2 separate regions of the Homo sapiens genome follow, and region 1 is linked to region 2. The links are contacts of gene promoters, found by promoter capture Hi-C in human tissues and cell types (Jung and others, 2019). All regions are on one chromosome and are shown on one strand. Each heading gives the region's core, a stretch centred on a gene start or on the middle of the fragment in contact. The rest is flanking DNA. Distances are from core to core; before and after follow the strand shown. Region 1 has its middle 32 kb from the start of LINC00951. Region 2 holds the start of APOBEC2 (apolipoprotein B mRNA editing enzyme catalytic subunit 2).

Region 1 (6,338 bases), core at 2,380-4,879, 730 kb before region 2:
TTTTTGCTATAGATTCTCACAAGTCTTTCTGGAAACCTGCAGTGCAGCTTCTCCTATCACAGCTGAGGTATAGGATATTTCACCTCAGTTGGGAAGGGAGACTGTGGGCCCAGGACAGGGAAAAAGACCCAGCCACCAGCAGGGGAGAAGGGAAGAGAGGGAGGGAGGAGGGCAGGACCAGATACATCTCTGGGCATAGGTTCAAAGTAGAGGAAAGTGTTAGAAGCCTGGTAAAGGTCAGTGTTCACTATCTGGGACCAAACAGGGGTGTGGGCATAGCTCCAGGGTAATGGCCCTTGATTCTCTGTTTATAAGTAAACAGAGATACAGATAAATCTTGGGAGTCGATTTAGGTTTACTGGGATATGATTGGAGGCGTTAGTGCCTGTTGGGACCACACCCTCCATCCTCAAGGGGAAGGAGTAAGGTTTCTCCTAAAGAGAATGTCCTTACATCCTTTTCAGTCATACCTAGAAGAGTAGAGTCCTTGGTTAGAGACCTGGAATGCTGAAGGCAGTTCCTAGACAGCCAGAAGTAACATCAGTCTATCTCCAGGTCTTGTCCTCCTGGGTCTCAGTCACAAAAGGGCTCTTGCCCATGCAGGAGTTCTCTGCAGTAGGAATCAAAGTGGTGCCCACACCACGAGGCAGGCAGGGAGTGGGGATGGAAAGGGGCCAGACCACCCCAGAGGAGGAGAGCCTTGTGAACCAAATGGGCCAGTTGCATGAGATTCTCTGTATTTCTTTTCTTCCTATTATATCCCTGAGTTTCCTGCAAGGTCTTAGCTAACTGTCCCATGGTAATTACTGGGAGACCCTCAAGGGAAGGTGACTGTGGGGACAAAGGTAAGCACTCCAGCTCTCACTGCACTACCTTTCTAGCGATTCAACCCCCATCCCCACGCCCGCCGCCGCCGGTGGGTGACTTTGAAGGATCCAAGTTGTCTTAATGGGAGATGATGGTCGTTTTGTGATTGTAACATTTGGGAATCCAGGAATAGGTGACCTTTGAAAGAAGAAACTGTTAGTTCATATTGAGAAAGTAGCAGAACTTCCTACTCACTGCCCATCAGGCTGGGGGCAGGGCCAGAACTGGGTCCTGGGTTGGGCAGGGATGGAAGCGGGGAGGCTGAAGGGTCCCAGCCATGACTGTACCAAGTCAGGGTCTCAGGCTCTGGAACAAGACATTTGTATTCCTCTTTCTCTCCTAAAAATGTCTATGCAAAAATACACATGTACTCGCATGAATGAACCCAGGCAGGCACGCACACAACACATGTTTTTAACCAAGGAAACATCCCCCGCTCCGTTCCCAACAGACAGAGCTACAGGAAGGGACTCTGACTTCCGAATAATCTTGCAAACAAATAGCTTGACTTTAACTCCATTACCAGGGCTAATCTGTCCCGACTCCCACCTGATCTGCACAAGAAATGGGCTCATTCATAATGGATGGTGTGTGCACTTTGCAAAGTCCCCCAGAGGTATCAGTTAAGCAGTCTGCAGCGGCAGTTTCCTTAAGCAAAGGGAAGAGGCTGAGACAAGTCTCCCAGGATAAGGTCAGGCCCGGAGGGAAAATGGGTACAATGACTCCTCCCCTCCCCCTCACCCATTGGGCTGCCCTGTGCCTTTCAGTGCTCCACTCAGCTGGCTCTGCACCGCGCTCACAGCCTTCAGCACGTCTCCCCTGGGCAGCTCCACAGCCGCTCCGGCCGGGTCCCTCCATCTCGATTTACAGGCAGGAGGACAGGGAGTCTGAGGAAATGATTTTAGAGGGCAATAGTTCTTCTAGGACTGTGGTTCTCAAGCTTCAGGGTCTATCAGAATCCACTGGAGGGCTTGACAAAACTCAAGCTGCTCCCCCACCCCCTCCCCACCATTCTAGAGCTTCTGACTTAGAGTTCCAGGTGGGCCTGAGAATTTCATTTCTAGCAAAGCTTCCAGGTGCAGCTGCTGCTGGTCCGAGGACCACACTTTGAGAACCACTGGTCTAGCTCCTGACTTGGCACCAGAATCCCTCTGCCACCTTCCTCACAGGTAAAGTCAGAAATTGCATGTGCTTCCTCTTATTAGATGCCTCTTCCTACCAGTCCCCACTCTCTCTTGTGCTTTGTTTTCTTGTCTGTCTGTCCTTCCAGAATGTAAGTCCCTAGAAAACAGGATATGTCTTAGTCTCCTGTGTGTTCCCAGGACTGTAAACATACCAGGAAAAGCTTCAGCAAGAGGTATATACCACTAGGGGAACAGTGGTTACCCACCCCCAGGAAGAAGCAGGATCAGGGTGGGATGTCACTACTGAAGAATTGTTACTTTTTAATACTCTAATCTGCTATATCGTTTGGATTTTAAAAATGAGAATGATCCATGTGTTAATGGGTGATTAAAAAGTAATGGAAGAAAACCGAATTTATTGACTAAAGCATCCTCTCTGAAGGTACTAACTCTGCTGTCCCACACTCCCACGGAGTCTCAAATGTGTTCAGCTAAATAGCATTACTGCCAGGTGCTGCTGAAAGAGCTTTAAATATACAGACTTATTTAGTACTTACAACAGCCACATGAGGTGAGGACTATGTCTTATCCCTGTTCCTTATATGAGGAAGCTGAGGCCCAGAGACGCTAGTTAGCTTACCCAAGGCCAGGTGTCTCATTTGCAGTAGAGTTGACATTCACCCCTCAACAGGCTAGTTCTGGGAGTTGTGATCTTGACCCCTGGTGGAGCTGTACCACCTAGAAGTTGAGGTTCAGCAAAAGATGGAATCCTATTTATTTACACCTAACCCACTTTGCTCTAAAGAGGATTCGAGGGGACTGCTATCTGATTTAGTTATCCAAAGCTTATATTGCCTAGAAATGTTACCTTTAATTAAAAAAAAGCCATCAAAGCAGACATGATCAGTGGCCTCTGAGATTTTCTGTTCCTATTGTTTTTTCACCAATATACTGGCAAGCATGCAGCAGCAGGTGCCAAAAGGAGAGAAAAATTTATAGGGGGAGGACTTTAAATACAGAACATTCTATTCATTAACTTGATTTCTTTTGTGCACTGAAAAAAAGAGCTGCATGATTCAATTTTAGTGGAGGAAACCCTTGACCTTGCTCTGGGAACCCCTGAGTTCCCTAGCGGCAGAGCTTAGAGCGTCTGGCCTGGGGAATATTTTGTAATCATCTGAGGTGCTCAGCCCCCATCCAGCCTAAGGAGTGAATTTCTGCAGGGACTGGGAGGGGTGGTGTCTGGCATTGCTATGTTTAAACAAATCACCTCTGGTGATTGTAATGCACAGTCAGGGTTGAGAGCCACTGAGAAGATCCCTTACAATTTTAAAGTTTTGATCCTCACTCTAAGATCTCAGTTTTCTAATATTTTATGATTGTATCCCTCTCCCCCAGCCCAGAGTCCCGGCCCTGACTTTCCAATGGAAGTTGCTGGGGTGGTTTGGAATTTAATCACCTCCTTGGAAGCAGAGCCCAGCTCCCCAGGGGGCTGCTTGTTCACCCTGTGTGAGGCCAGCAGGTTTATTTACGGTTTCTGATTTTATTTATTGCCCCACCTCAGAGCTGCTCTTCTGCATACAGAGAACTCAGGCTGTCTGCTGCCTGTGCTGCTGGGGCCGCCATAAGCTGGGCTTGGATGGATGTGCAGCTTTAGTCCACCGAGTTGGCTGAGAAGCTGGTCGCCTTCCTGGGGGTGATTTTTGTGATGCAGCGAAGCCCTACCTGTTCCAAAACATCTCCCCCAAAGCTTCCCCAGCACAGGGGTTATGAATGGATGAGGCAACACAGGCCTTGCCTGCGGGAAGTTCTAGAAAAATTCTGTTCTCACTTGGAGGGCTCAACTCTGCCTATCTTACCATTTGCCTTGGGACCCACCCAGGAGGGCAGCAGCTAGATCTTGCCCTGATGCATGTTTATTGCCCTCCATGGCCAAGGGCCGATGTGGAGGACACAGCCCTTTGGAAGGTGAGTGCAGGTGGTGGAGATCACAAAGGCTGGGTAGGAAGGAGACCACCGATGGTATCTGATTTCTGTTTTTCATATTCTCTGCCTCAGTTAGCATCCACTCTCTCTCCTCTTGTTCCTTCCCTCTCCCCCACCAGGGTCTTGCCATGTAGATGGTACAGCAGTCAGGGTCTAAACAGGAAAACAGAAATCAAGTTAATGGCAGGACATGACAGAAGGAAGGTAATGCAGTGACCTGGTTATAGGTGTTGGAGGGGCCAAGAGCCAAGTGGGACAGTGAAGAAACTTCAAAATCAGCAACCTCAAGAAGCTCCTGCCAGCTCGAGGGCTGGTGGCAGGGGAGTGGTGTTGACAGTGCCTGGGAGCCAGGGCCACCCATGAGAGCTGGAACCATGCCAGCCTACAGGTCAGGAGCTGAGGCCACTGCCAGAGGAGCCTCCCCAGAAAGGAGAGCAGGAAAGACACCTGCAGCTTCTCCCCCAAACCCTAAACTCCCCCAAGGGAAACAGAACCCAACAGGCATAGAGTCTGGAGTTGCAGAGGAGGGTGGGTGGTTGTATGTTTCGAGGAAGGGCCTTGAGGACAAACAGGCAGGAGACCAATACCAGGGAATTTCCAGACCACTGTGTACTGAGATTGTGAAGCAACTTCTTCAGGATCCCGCAGCCTGGTTAGGGACCTGGTTGGGGACCTGGTTTGGGACCTGGCTAGGGATGCAGCCAAGGATTTTACCCTGACTGCCCATCCTGGGTAGGATCTCTCTGGCTTTCTGTCCCAGCCCTCCTCTGTAGGACCAAGAGCTGCTTTGCAGACAGGTGGCTGAGGAAAAAGGTGTGGTCCCTGGCTGCTGGAATCAGTCAGTGTGAAGCGAGGGAGGGGTTGTGGGTAACAGCGCCTCTGCTTCCTCTCCACCTCTTTCACCCTGTTCCCACATTTCTTTTCATCTTCTTCACCTTCTGGGAACCCCTCCTACCATGTTCTTAAACCTATATCTTGGAGGTAATGGCCACTCCCGACCTTTTCTCTCTGGGATCCAGCCACTTGAGTTGCTATGGCAGAGACAATGCTCTGTGTTCACCTCCCCATTTCCTCTGTCTGAGCACGTGGCAAGGTTATATCTCCCAGCCTCCCTTGAGGTGAAGTTAACCCATCCATGTGACCCGTTCTGGCCAATGGGCTGTGGGCAGTGGATCCCCTCTGGTCCAAGGCACTTAAAACCAGGTGTGAGTTCTCCAAGTTCTCCTTTTCCTGCTACAGTAAGCTGAAGCCCACTCATGTTGACATGACATCAGTGGACAGAAGGGATCCTCAAGGAGAGGACAGCTGCCTTGGAGAATCAGACATCCTACACTGGACTTTACATGTGCAAAAAGTAAATTTTTATTGTATTAAGATACCAAGATTCAGAGGTTAATTTTAAAAACACACAAACAACAACAACAACAATAAAAACACATCATAGCCTGGTATTACCAAAACACAGTTGCTATATGCTATAATGATTTCTCCCAGAAACAGAGTGAGACCCCTCTTATATTCTTCCACAGGCCCCTGAGTGGCCCTTGTCCAGTTTAAGGCTGCAATCTCCATGGAGGCATCCCCAAGCCTGGCACAGTAGCTGGCACAAAAGAAAAACTGAGTAAATAGTTGTTGACTAAATGAACAAGTGAGTGAACTAATGAATAACCCAGGACCAGCTAAGAACATCTTAGAATGAGATCATGGTTTATCCTGGAGCACCAGAAGGAAAACACCCAGTCCAAGAGGGCGGAAATAGAATTCAGGGAAACCTTGACAGATTAGAAAAATGATCCATTCAGGATGGGTGAAATACAAGGCAAGGCTTGTAGAAATTCAACACAAGCCTCATCAATCCAGGGGGAGGTGAGGAGAAACCCAACGGGACCCAGGATCATAGGGGACTGGGAGTCTAATAACATCCTTAGGGAAGGACCAGCCTCTTCCATGCTGGGACAGGACCCAGGAAGGAGGAATCGGCACATGCCAGGCAGGGTGTGATCATCCCACTGCACTTGGCCTTCTCCCGGCATCTAATTTTAGCTGTCACATTTAAGAAGGATTTGGAAGCTCTGGAGCACAGCCAGAGCCAATAGGAGAAATGATGAAAGGTTGAAAAAAATAGAACCTGTAGGAAAAGTCCAGGAGAGGTGGGAGTTAAATGGGTCTGGGAGAGGCAGCTGTATGCAAATGAGCAGCTCTTTAGTTTGAGGAGGGTGGGGAAGCCAGAACTGGGGGACATTGATTTATACAGCAGCAAGAAAGGTTTAAGTTAGACTCCAGGAAGTGAAACTTGATGAAGGCTTCTGGTGAACTAAGTACTTCCCTTGGCTGCCCCCCTGCTCAGGAGGCCCTGGTAGA
Region 2 (6,326 bases), core at 1,311-3,810:
ATAATGCATGCTTGAATGCTTGATTAATGCCCCAAATATGATAAAAGCTGGGATCCCCTGGTGAGCCAGCACCTTATTTATCTCTGTACTCTTGGTATTTACCACCGCACCTGGAACATAGGAACCTCTGATAAATGTTGACTGAACAAGAAAATGAAGTAAACTCTTTACATTTAAACGTGGTATGTTTGTGTGATAACAACATTCTTTGCAGTTTATCAGCTGCCACTGTCTTTTTATTGTGGACACAGGCACTATTATCTCTACTCAGTGCTTTATTCCCCCCGAAAAATGTTTGAAAAAATAAGATCCAGATAAAAATGCTTTCAGTGGCTGGGCGCGGTGGCTCATGCCACCCAGCATTTTGGGAGGCCAAGGCAGGCGGATCACGAGGTCAGGAGATGGAGACCATCCTGGCCACATGGTGAAACCCTGTCTCTACTAAAATTACAAAAATTAGCTGGGCCTGGTGGCACATGCCAGTAGTCCCAGCTACTTTGGAGGCTGAGGCAGGAGAATCGGTTGAACTCGGGAGGCGGAGGTTGCAGTGAGCCAAGATCGTGCCACTGCACTCCAGTCTGGTGACAGAGTGAGACTCCATCTCAAAAAATAAATAATAATAATCCTTTTAGTAGTAAATCCAAAAGGTAGGGGACCATATAATTTATTGTCCACAGCGGGACACCTTTGGGAGTAAAGGGGTGCTATTAGTAATTATGTCTGGACAACAGGAAGAAACCATGACTGGCAAACCAAAATGCTGGGCATCACACTAACAGAGCACTCTGCTGCTCAGACTCTCTGGAGGAGTGAGCCCTAAATCTTCCAAACCATCTTGACTCCTCTTCTTTAGTCAGACCCTCCAAAGGGTGCCCTACCCTCTCATCCCCACCAGCCAAACCCATTTGGAGCTGTTTTCAGATCCGTTCCCCAGTGTTCTTAGGTTCCTCATTTTCAACCTACAAGTGACCCTGACCCCTTCCTTCTGCTTCCCTGAGAATGGCCTAGAGTGTTTGCACTGCTCCAAACACGAAGACTTTTGCCTCTGCTAAGTACCCATCATGAGAGCTGCAAAAATCATCTAGCCATCCTCTGCTGCTGTTCCGGCTCAGGGTCTTTTCTATGGGCCCCCATCATCTCTCTCTGGCCTCAGTAGGCTTCTCACTGGTCCCCTGCCTCTGCTCTTCCCAAGTGCTCAGACCACCTGTCTCACCTGTTCAGAGACAATGGCTTCCCACCTCAGTCTGAGAAAAAGCAAGGTACTTATGACAGCCCATAAGGCCCCAGTCCCTTTTACCCTTGTTATCTCTCTGGCTTAATCTCTTAGAACTCTTCAGTCACCCAGATGTATGTCCTCGCTAGTTCCTCAAACACCCCAGGAATGCTCCCTTCTCAGAGCCTTTGCTCACGTTGTTCCCTTCCTTGGAACGCTTTCCTCTTAGACAACCAAATGATTAGTTCCCTTGCCTTCTTCACGTCTTCTTCAATTGTCTCCTTTTCAAAGTCCTTCACCCTGGCCATCCTATAAGTACGTAACCCCACCTCTTAGCACTTCCTGTTTCCATTTCCTGTCTTTTCTCCTTGGCACTTGTCATCACAAAATAGACCATGTATTTTACTTACCTTATTTGTTGTTCAGTTCCTCAAGCTCCACAAATCATCACAGCAGGGATTTTCATTTGCTTTGTTCTTTTGCCATATTCCCAGTACCTGAAACAGCACCTGGCATAGAGTAGATACTCAATAAATATTTGTTAAGAAGAATAAAAGACTGACTGTGAGGGCACATAGCATGGAGGTTGAATATTTGGCCTGAAGTACAAAAGCCTGCATTTTAATCCCGGCTCTGCACACTTCTGTGACTCAGTTTACCTGTAACTTGGGATAATACACATCGCCTCCCATGGCTGTGGCAAGCATGCATCTGATTTCATTTAAACCCCTAAACCCACTGCCTGGCCTGTTTCAAAATCTCTGAGCTAAGTAAATGGCAGCTATTGTTACTCAGGGAGGCTCCTGATCGATTTGACATTACATTATGGCTTTGTAACAGGCAAATCAGCACCCACCGCTTTTGAGTCATAACTCACACACTTACTCCCCAAATTGTCAGTTTTGATCCCACCTCTGCCAGGACCCCTCCTTTCCTGAACCCACGTTCCCCCAAAGCAAATGGCCTGGGTCTTTTTGCAGTCAGCCCCTTTCAACACACATCTCCTCCTGTTTAAATCTCAGAAGGCCACCCTCCTAAATCTCAGGATGCCTGCCCTGGGGCCCCTTCCACACTCTCCCCCAGTGGAGCTAGGGAATTTGGGTGGGAAACAAAGGGGAGAACATAAGGTGAGCTGAGAGGGAGAGGGAGAAGAGAGCAGGCCAAGCCATACCCACCTGCCAGGTTCCTGTCTTTGCCTACTGATAAATAGGGGATACTAATGGCCAGATTTTCCATTCCCCCACCCCAGCACCCGCTGTCACTCAATTAAAAAAAGATAGAGGGAGAGAGCCTGGGGGAGGGGCAGGAGGCCTTGGCTATAAAGCCTGTGGCTAAGTGGGGAAAGCACGAAGCCTGGCCTGCTGGGTCCTTTTCCCGTCATCCCCAGCCAGATTTAGCTGCTGACAGCTGCTTGGGACTCTGCCGCCAGGGCCTGGCCCAGACCTGCCTGCCTCTCTCCTCTCCCTCAGTGACTCCTGAGCCACAGCCCCTCCATGGCCCAGAAGGAAGAGGCTGCTGTGGCCACTGAGGCTGCCTCCCAGAATGGGGAGGATCTGGAGAACCTGGACGACCCTGAGAAGCTGAAAGAGCTGATTGAGCTGCCGCCCTTTGAGATTGTCACAGGGTAAGCCTCAGATGTGGGTCAGGGTTCTGCTCCCTAGAAGAGTGCAGCCTTGGGTTAGGCTGTGGAAATTCAGGATGGTTATATTAGGCGTCAGGGACAGCTACAACCCTGCAGCAGTGAGAGTGCACCAGTGGGCCCGGCAGGGGTGGTAGGGGACCCAGCAGCAAATTCTCTTGGCTTCTCAGGGTGACACCTTGGGCTCTCTAATCAGGGAGAGGTAGGAGGAGCTCCTTGGAGGCAAAAGCCCAGAGAATAAAACCACCCTTCAGGCCTCCTGGTATTGGGATGGCCACCTGCCTCTCTGGGTAGAAGCTTAGTCCCAGGGAGTTTGGCGAGGACAGAGGATGAGACTGGCACATCTATATGTGGCTCCGTTCAAAGCAACCCTTCCCCTCAACTTCTCTGTTCCTGAGTGGGTCTCTCCGCTAGCCATAGGCCTCTAGCCCTTTCTTTAGAGCTTCTTCCTGGAGTAGATGCTCCCAAGACAGGAAAGATAGATCCATCCTTTCCCAAGACTCAGAAGCAGCTTTTTTCTTATTAAATCTTTTGAGTCTCCTCAGGGGCTGTCCCACAGAGAAACAGAGAAATTACATGCAGATAACGCAGCCCAGGAGCTTATGGACACAGGAGCTGTTCCAACATGCTCAGGCATTGCCTGGAGGAACTGGGACCCAAAGAAAAGGGTCTACAGACTGCAAGGAGGGGGCTGTGTGCAGGGTACCTCTGTCTTATCCAGATTATGCCATCTCCAGGAATAAAACTAAGTAGTCTTCTTCCTCTTCCCTTTCTATTCCTGTAGTGGAAGACCCTTCTAAATCCTGAGCAAAGAATAAAAAGAGAATCTATGAGGCCATATTTCCTCCTTGAACCAAACGTTCCCTTCATGGGGTCTCCAGGAATGACCACAGGCAGAGTGGGTGCGAGACTAAGAGAAGTTTCAGGAAGAAAGGAGGCATGATGCTTTCAAGGGGGAAAGGAAGCCCTGAGTGGCAATTTGGACTTGATATTTCAAGCTTGACAAGTGATTTTCCAGTCAGCCACAGTTTTAGCACTTATAACATGAAGATCTATAGTAGTAAGGTCCCTTCCAGCTCAGATGTTTTCTGATTTTCAAGAGAACCTAAGGGAAAATGCATCCTATTTCCTGAGGCAAGAGTAGCCCCTGAATTTCCATTTGCCCATGCCCACCCAACTAATCTCACCCTCATCCTAGGATTAAGGGAGCAGCTGGGCACAGATTAATATAGACACAGGGAAAGCCTAAGGCAGCCTGGCCAGGAGAGTCCTCAATTCCAGTGGCTTTCTTATGGAAGGAGAGCCTTTTTCTAACACCTAAGCATGCTGGTATACGCTATCCTTAGTCATACACACACGCGTGTGCACACTACACTCTTGTGTGGCTTTCCAACACAGAGGGAGGGTAGGTCAAGAACAGAATTAGACTATGTTTGTTCAGCTGAACATGCTTTGGGGGTCCCAGAGCAATGGATCCTGAAGGGTTAAGTCCACTGATATAACTTACATTTGTCCAGGGCTTTATAATCACAACATAGTTTCATGAACATGAGACCATTCAACACTCAGCACAAAGGTAGGAGAGGGAGATATATTATTGCCACTTTACAGAGGGGGAAACTGAGACTCAGAGAGATTGAATGGTATGTCCAAAACCACAGAACTGGTAGGTGGCACATCTTCTTACTCCCAGCAAAGTATCCTTTCTACTGGTTTCTTATTCATTCTGGATCCCAGGTTTCCCAGAGCTCCACGTTATCTCTATCTGGGAGGTAGTGAGGACCCAAGGCTCAGAAAAAGGGGCACAGAAGGGGCAACGTTCTGAGCATTCTGTGAACAGTTCAGGTGGGAGCAGAGCGCTGAGTGTTTCCTGGCCACAAGTAACAGCTGTAGAGAGCTGTCTCCTGGGCCCCTCTGGGTAAACAGATGGCTTAAAATAGCCCAGAGGTGCAGCTGGGTCTGTGCAGGGAGAGGGTGAGGGAATAGCTTTCCTCTCCTTCCCTCTTGAGATGCATTCCCCCCAGGACTCCCTCCTGGAGTCAAGGGGGTCAGCAAAGCAGCTTTTCTAGCCTGGTCTCCTATAGGGAAGATCTTTAGTGCTCCTTATATTTGGGCCAAAAACTAGCAGAAGAGCAGGTAGCTTTTCCGGAAACAGTCCGACATGAGGAGGGTAGCTGGTAGGAAGGAGAGATGCCCAGCTCATAGCGATTCTGGTTGAATAGGGCATTCAGGATAGAAAGCGGAACTGAGCACATTAACAAAATAACATGGTAGAATGTTCTGGAAAAGGGCCTAAGCCTGCCGTAGCGTGCTGAAGCCAGTTCCTGTTGGTTCACAAGTCTCTTCCCTACTCTGCATCCAGTGATATCACCTCGGGAGCTTGAAATCTCTGTAATGGGAGTACTTACCTTATGGAAATCAGCAAACTTTAGAAATTGGGGATTCTTCCTTCTATCAGAGAGATGAGTGTTACACTTATCAGCACACCATTGAAAACCAGAAACCTCTGAAAGTGAGAGGAAGAGCAGTGGGAAAGGGATCAGGTTTGGTAATGCTTAAGACGGAGCTCTGAAGGATACAATTTGAGGCCTGGAGAAGGCATCATATGTATCATACATCAATTTCCTTTTTCTTTTTTGGAGATGGGGTCTTGCTTCTTGCTCTGTTGCCCAGGATGGAGTGCAGTGGTGCAATCACAGCTCACTGTCGTCGCAACCTCCCGGGCTCAGGTGATCTTCCTGCCTCAGCCTCCCAAGTAGCTAAGACTACAGGTGCATGCCACCACGCCCAGCTAATCTTTGTATTTTTATAGAGATGGGTTCTGACTGTGTTGCCCAGGCTGCTCTCAAACTCCTGGCTTCAAGCAATCCTCATGCCTCAGCCTCCCAAAGTGCTGGGACTATTGGCGTGGGCCACTGTGCCCAGACTAGCTTTGAGTGTCTACTGTTGTCCAAAACCTTAGAAGTTAGATTACTCACTCTTTCAGGTGAGGAAACTAAGCCTCAGAGGGATTAAGTCATATGGCCAAAGCTTGTTGATGGAGTAGGATGTGAACCCCAGGACTGTCTGACTCCAAATCATCACACTGCATCCAAAAAACCAGAGAGGATTCTTTTTATATTTACTGAATAAGAGTTTTTCATTTACTGCCTGTTTCCCCTGTTAGTATTTAACCTCTATGAGGACAGCACTTTGTCTTTTTCACTGCTTTATCTTTAGCACCTAGCTCCTGATAGGTACTCAATACGTATTTGTTGAATAAATGAATGACCTAATGAATAAGAACCTTTTGGGTGGTTCTTAGGCTCTCTGTCAGACAAGACAGGGAATGAACTGGGGGAGGGTTTCTTGAGGACAGCAGCTCAGGGTGTATGACGATCCAGCAACACTAGATTTAGGTAAGAATTCCCCTGGCTCATGCCTGCTTCTGGACACAGCACGTTTTAGTAGAGCTCTGGGGCACGAGAGCTGGTT

The links. The method cuts DNA at HindIII sites, captures the fragments that hold promoters and counts their contacts. A contact is called where the count stands out against the background at its distance.
Region 1: a fragment that was not itself captured here is called in contact with the fragment with the promoter of APOBEC2 in region 2 in 1 of the 25 tissues and cell types used here (dorsolateral prefrontal cortex).

The regions. Positions count from the first base shown.
Region 1 is chr6:40,320,908-40,327,245 of GRCh38, forward strand. No RefSeq gene overlaps it. Among named protein-coding and RNA genes, the nearest start is that of LINC00951, 32 kb to the right of the region's middle. RefSeq lists an enhancer at 1,160-1,682. The HindIII fragment of the contact is 3,516 bases long and covers 1,872-5,387 here.
Region 2 is chr6:41,050,642-41,056,967 of GRCh38, forward strand. APOBEC2 (apolipoprotein B mRNA editing enzyme catalytic subunit 2) reads left to right here and starts at 2,561. Exons shown (of 3, transcript NM_006789.4): 1 at 2,561-2,837. The coding sequence starts at 2,707. The HindIII fragment of the contact is 7,265 bases long and covers 1-3,499 here.